Regions from separate parts of the Homo sapiens genome. Here region 1 is linked to region 2. The links are contacts of gene promoters, found by promoter capture Hi-C in blood cells and fetal thymus (Javierre and others, 2016). All regions are on one chromosome and are shown on one strand. Each heading gives the region's core, a stretch centred on a gene start or on the middle of the fragment in contact. The rest is flanking DNA. Distances are from core to core; before and after follow the strand shown.

Region 1 (3,247 bases), core at 573-3,072, 210 kb before region 2:
AAGCTATCCATCAGATAGTGGATTACCTGGCTGATGAAATAACCTGTTAATACCTGGGTGATGAAATAATCTGTACATCAAGCCCCCATGACTCTCAATTTACCCATGTAACAAACCTCCACATGTACCCCCTGAACCTAAACCTAAAATAAAAGAAAAATGAAAGAAAGAGTCAGAGAAGAGAAATGGAGGGATAATGGGTGACAAGGGGGAGTGGCAAATAGCCAACATTTCTACACATTGCTGTTCACGGTAGCCAAAGTTGGAGATGTCTATCACTACTTCCCCCAGGGTTAAATAAAACGTGCCAATATACTATTTTGCCCATAGATTTTTAAAATTCAAGTTGTTTATTTCTGACTGTGGAATAAAATAATTTATTCCTTCTTAAAATTTTTTAGTCATCAGAAAGCATGAGAACATTATGGTAAGACCCTTTCCAGTACCCCTAAAATCACTTTTACCTTTACACAATTAGGGCAGTCCACACCTGACAGGAAAAATGAAATCTGTTGGTCATAGCTTCCACATATCTGTAACCCATATCCTAGTCAAAAGCAGAATTCAATAAAATCTTAACAAATTTAACCAAATGTCATAATACATCATGGCCAAGTGGACTTTATTCCACATATGCAAATATGTTCAATATTCAAAAATCAACCAACATAATTTATCGAAACAACTGACTAAAGAAGAAAAATTACATAATCATATCAATTGACACAGAAAAGAGCATTAAACGACATTTAACTTCTATATATGATAAAAACTCTCAGTATACTAGAAATAAAGGGCAACTATTCCAACCTTATAAAGAGTATCTACAAATAATCTACAGCAAAAATCATGCTTAATGGTTAAAGGTTGAATCCTTTCCCTCTAAGATCAGAAACAAGGCAAGGATATCTATTTCCATCACTATTATTTAACATGGTACTATAAATTTTAGCCTTTGCAGTAACAAAGCATGAAAAAGAAACAAAAATAATACAAATTGGGAAATAAATGAATCTATGTCTATGTGCAAATGACATCATGTCTATATACAAAGTTCCAAGAAATCTCCAAAAAACCACCCCCACCAGAGCAGTTTAATAGGGTCACAGAATCTATGATAAATGATTAGTGCACAAAACTCAATGTATTTCTGTATATTGACAAAGAACAAGTGGAAACTAAAATATGTAATACTATTAACAATTTCTTAAAAGAAAATGAAATATTTTGGTATAAATGTAACAAAACATGTATGGGATCTGTAGTGAAAATTATAAAATATTGAGGAAAAAATCAAAGAAAACTTAAATACTTGGTGAGAACATACCATTTTCATGGACTGGAAAACTCCACATAATTAAGATATCAATTTCCCTAAATTTATCTATATGTTTATCATAATTTCCGTCAAAATATCAGCAAGTTTCATGTAGACAATTTAGAATATGACAAGCCTATTCTAAAATTTATATGAAAAGGGAAAGGCCCTAGACCTTTATTTTTCAAAATAATTTGAAAAATAAAAGTGGAGTGGGATAAATTACTCTTCTTGATATTCAGACTTACTATATAGCTGAGGTAATCAACAGAGTATGACACTGACAGAGAGATAGACACAAAGATTAATGGACTAGAATAGGGAATCCAGAAGTCGGCCCACACAAATATATCCAAATTAGTTCTTGACAAAGGAGAAAATGTTCAATGGAGGAAAAATTGCCTTTTCAATAAATGGTGCTGAAGAAACCGGGCATCCGTTGATGATAAAGAAAACCTGACCTATATCTCACACCTTATATAAAGTTAACTTATACAAAAACGAAGCATAAACTTGAATGTAAAATGTGAAATTTTAACATTTACTTGTTTATTTTTAGAAACAGGGTCTTGCTCTCTCACCCAGGTTGGAGTACAGTGGCTTGATCACAGCTCACTGTAACCTCAAACTCCTAGGCTCAAGCCATCCTTCTGCCTCAGCCTCTCGAGTAGCTAGGACTACAGGTATGTGCCACCACTCCCAGCTAAAATGTTTTGTAAAGGTAAGTTCTTGTTGTCTTGCCCAGGCTGGTCTTGAACTCCTGGCCTCAAGTGATTCTCCCACCTTAGTCTCCCAAAGCTGTAGGATACAGGCATGAGCCACTGCAGCTGGCTGAAATTTTAACATTTATAGAAAGAACGTAAGAGAAAGTACGTGGAACCTGGGACTAGTCAAGTTTCTTCTTAGACTCAACACCAAAAGTATAATTTGTAAGAGGAAAAACTGATAAATTAGCCCTCATCAAAATTAAGATCTTTGATCCTCCGAATATCCTGTAAAATGACAGAAGGGACAAGTTACAGACTCAGAGAAAATATTTGCAAGTCACATATCTGGCAAAGGCCTCTGAAAAACAGTTTGCAGTTAAATAAAAAACTAAACGTGATACTATCATATAGCCCAGCATTTGTACTCCTTGATATCTATCACAGAGAGATGAAAACTTATGTTCACACAGAAACCTGCACAGAAATGGTCATATTAGCTCTATTTGTAACAGCAAGAAGGGAGAAAAATCCCAGATGTCTTTTGATGTAACAAACTCTATTATACCATAGAATGTTTCTTAACCATGAAAATAAATGAACTACTGGTACATGCAACAACTTGAATTAATTTCCAGAGAATTATACTGATTTTAAAAATTCAATCTTAATAAGTTCATACTATGCAACATTCTTAAAATAACAAAATAACAGAGATATAGAACAGATCAATGGTTTTTTCAACTGTTGAAGAGGATAAAGGTAGGGGACAGTATGAGGGAAGGAGGTGTGGCTGTAAACAGGCAACACGAGAGGTCTCTGTGGTGATTAAAATGTACTATATATTGGTATATTGGTGTCAATATTGTACTATAGTTTTAGAAGATATTACCATTGGGAAAATTTGATTAAAGTGTATATAGGATCTCTCTTTATTATTGCATATGAATCTATAATAATCTCCAAATTAAAAAGTTAATTAAAAGTAAAAAATCAAATGGTATCTATGTTGCCATGTAATTTACGTAAACACAAAAACACAGAAATTAATACTACCCTATACCTCATGTTACCGAAAATTTTATATATACATACATAGTACACATATAGATAATACATGTATTATGTTATATATACATATCTATCATATATCTGTGTGGGTATATGAAGTGTGTATATATATGAATGTGTGTTTATACATACAGACAGAGATTTTATATATATT
Region 2 (3,612 bases), core at 379-2,878:
TGGGTTAAATGGTACTCTTCAACAATAGCCTCTTCGGAAACAAAATGCAACTGTTTTAAGACAGGGTAAAAGACAGACATATTTTGTCCACATACTGTAGGCAATGGGGTTGGTAACTTATGCTTTATTGTCCATACCTACTAATCAAGTTTACATAATGTACCCTTCCTGAAATCCAAATCTCCAAATATTACACCATAATTAAAAGGATTTTTTAATGGTTCATTATTATCTACAGAATGAAATACAATTTCCTAGCATGACATCTAAGGCTATCTACAAACTATTTTCAATTTTCCATGACTTACCTTCCCTTAACTGCTCCCACTTACACCCTGTATCACCAGCAGGTTGGTTTTTGTTCCCTGAAAATGTTCTACAATTTTTGGTTCAGCTCCTTTGCTCTCAGTGTTCCCTCTATCTGTATTATTTCCTCTATACCACCATCCTCCCCAAACATCTATTAAAATCCTACTTAACATCCATACCTAGTTCAGATACACTGGCCACACATCCGTACGTGGTGGGGCCCTGGATACATCAAGGGCAAGATGATCCACTGGGACAAAAGTAGAAAAGTGACCCCACTTAGCCCTTCTTTAGAATCACAGGGCAGCATCTTTAGATTTTAAAGTTTCCTGTCTGCCTGTCTGGCATTTTGATTCTGTATCCTGTACCCACCCATTCTCCTCTCCCCTCCACCAGGAGATACTGTTGTTAATATATGAATAGCTACCGTTTCATAAGATTTTGCCACATATCAGCCACTATGCCAATTACTTTATAAACACTATCCCATTTAATCCATAAATTATTAACTAATACTCATATTACACCAATGGGAAAACTCAGGCTAAGTGACTTTCTTAGGATTACATGACTAGTAAGTGGTACTTGGAGTACACAAAACCAGGACTGTCTGAGTGTAAAGCCTGCTGTCTTTCACTAAGTTACACTGGGGCTGAGTGATTTCCCTGCCACTCAGGTGTCTTTGCTGTGGAGGAATTAACGGGTCTGAAGACTGAAGCTGGGAAGAAGCAGCAGGGAAGACTGATCTGAGCTTTCAGGGAAAAGAGTGAAGTTGGACTTTAAGGTTTTTATATTGTCAAGACAATTTACAAACACAGGAAGAGAAAGAATGACAAAGAGGAGAACTCCTAGCTGGAAAGAAGAGAAAAAAAAATTGGATGCAAGTAACTGCATTTATATATCTTGAGAATTTAAATAATCAGCAACAGTTAGAGGTGCAAATGCAACAGAAGCTAAAAGAAACTTAGTATCTGGAATAGTTGACAAGATAAAACCCCAAAATCTGAGAGCTGCAATCAAAGAGCCATCTTCTCTACTAAATTGAATTAGCTCAGTTATATAGCGCTTCTCAACAATAAAAAGTCCATTAAAGAACAGAAATTTAAAAATAAGTTTTACACACTATTAGTCTTCCAGTTTATATAACTTAATACTGTATACTAAGTTTTTATTAATAGGAAATGAAGGAATTCTGAGGGCCAAGCCATGTAGAAATAGCCTATAAACCAGACAGGCAGAGGGACCCAGCAGAGACTAGCAAAGTCTGTAAGTCATCACATTCCATCAGAAATATCCAGATGAAACCAGATGAAAAAGCACTTTAACAATACTCCTAAACAACTGCTAGGACCACGGAACTCAGAAACACAGCAAGGTAAGCAACGTGGATATTTCTATTAGTATTGATATAATACTCTGTTTCTCAGTAGTAGGAGGAATTTGAATTAGCCCGTCAGTCTTGAATCCTAACCATAAATAAAATAAAGTAAAAAAACAGCTTTGTTATAAGAGGATCCCATGACATGTTCCTTGTGATTTGGAAGGAACCTTTCCTGGTGCCTTCTCTGAAGACAGCAGAGAAGGAAGAAAATTAACAATTTCTAGGACTGATTAAGTCAGAGTGGAAGAGAAGCAGTAAAGACATCAATTCTAAGAAGGATTAAGGATGAAATGATACCTGTGTGAATGTGTGAAGTTTACATGGATAGTAACATTTCCTTCTATGTCATTAATATTAATATAGGCACTCAGTACCTATCTATGAAAGAATGAATGTGGAATCTAATACTGGTTAATGTATAGTACTTATACTCCTTCATAAATTATGTTGTATCTAAATATCTCTGAGCATTTGCTGTGTGTCTCCAAACAGGCTGTTATCGTCTTGAGGGCAAGGAACATTGTCGTTTTCAAATGCCTCAAGGGACACAGTAGAGGCTTCACCAGTGAGCACTTGATAAATGCTGATGAATGACTTTAATATTCTTCTTTCTGGTCAGAAACATTTTTTAAATGAATTTATATCAGAAAGTATATCATCACATCATGATCAATTTTTGTTTTAATTAAAGGCCACAGATTTTTATTTGAATTAAAGGAGACTCAGAACTAGTTAGAAGCTGTTATTTTCTTCTGAAAAGCTCCTGATTTTACCTATACCCTATTTCCACACTCCCAGATAAGGAAACTGTGCATGATGGCAAAACCCTGTTTGGACAGTGAAGAAAAGTGACAGCAAGAAGAAATGTAAAACCTCAGAGAGCACTAACGACTAAACATCAGAGGTTTAGACAGGGTCACGTTTTTCTTTTTCTTTCTTTTTTATTTGTTATAAGAAAAGTTCAAACATACACAGAAGTAGAGACAATAATATAATAAACTCCCATGTACCCATAACTCAGCTTTAAAAATTATCAAAACAAGGCCAATCTTTTTTCCTCTATAACCCTACCCCACTATTCTTTCCAGATTATTTGTGAACAAATCTCTGAGACCATTTCATTTCATCTTAAATGTTTTCAGTATGTATTTCCAAATAGGCAAGAACTTCTCTTTTTGAAATTTAACCTTACTCTTCCCAAATCAACAATATTTAAACAGGACCATCTTTGACTGGGAAATATACCAGCACTATGCTCAGTATCTGGGTGACAGGATCATTCACAGTAAACCTCAGCAACACACAGTATAGTCAGGGAACAAACCTGTGTATGTACCTCCTGAATCTAAAATAAAAATTGTAAAAATTTTATAGCAGGATACCCAGTATCCTGCTATAAAAATTTATTTGGGGTAGCACAGTAAAAGCTTTTGGAATGCAATTTACGATACATATCAAAAGTAATAAAAATTTAATTCCCATTACTTATGCCACTAATTATGTAATTCTTCTAGGTACTTATGCTGAGGAAATAATCCAGATAATGGAGGAAAAAAAATCTGTGGGTATCAAAATGCTCATTAGAATATTAGTGATAGTGAAACAATTTTAGATTTATTGAACCAGGGTAAAGACAGGGAATAGTATACGTAACCAATAAAATTTTTTTTTTTTTTGAGACGGAGTCTCCCTCTGTCACCCAGGCCGGCGTGCAGTGGCACAATCTCGGCTCACTGCAAGCTCTGCCTCCCAGGCTCATGCCATTCTCCTGCCTCAGCCTCCCAAGTAGCTGGGACTACAGGCGCCCGCCACCGCGCCCGGCTAATTTTTTGTATTTTTAGTAGAGACGGGGTTTCACCGTGTTAGCCAGGATGGTTTCGATCTCCTGACCTCGTGATCCGCCCGCCTCGGCCTCCCAAAGT

Evidence for each region. The method cuts DNA at HindIII sites, captures the fragments that hold promoters and counts their contacts. A CHiCAGO score of 5 or more calls a contact.
Region 1: a contact is called between a fragment that was not itself captured here and the fragment with the promoter of SMCO3 in region 2, in 1 of 17 cell types (neutrophils). The highest score is 5.6, in neutrophils.

What each region holds. Positions count from the first base shown.
Region 1 is chr12:15,021,180-15,024,426 of GRCh38, reverse strand. No RefSeq gene overlaps it. Among named protein-coding and RNA genes, the nearest start is that of LINC01489, 21 kb to the right of the region's middle. The HindIII fragment of the contact is 4,908 bases long and covers 1-3,247 here.
Region 2 is chr12:14,812,198-14,815,809 of GRCh38, reverse strand. SMCO3 (single-pass membrane protein with coiled-coil domains 3) reads left to right here and starts at 1,628. Exons shown (of 2, transcript NM_001013698.2): 1 at 1,628-1,684. The region is part of intron 1 of C12orf60 (chromosome 12 open reading frame 60); the gene reads right to left. The HindIII fragment of the contact is 14,101 bases long and covers 1-3,119 here.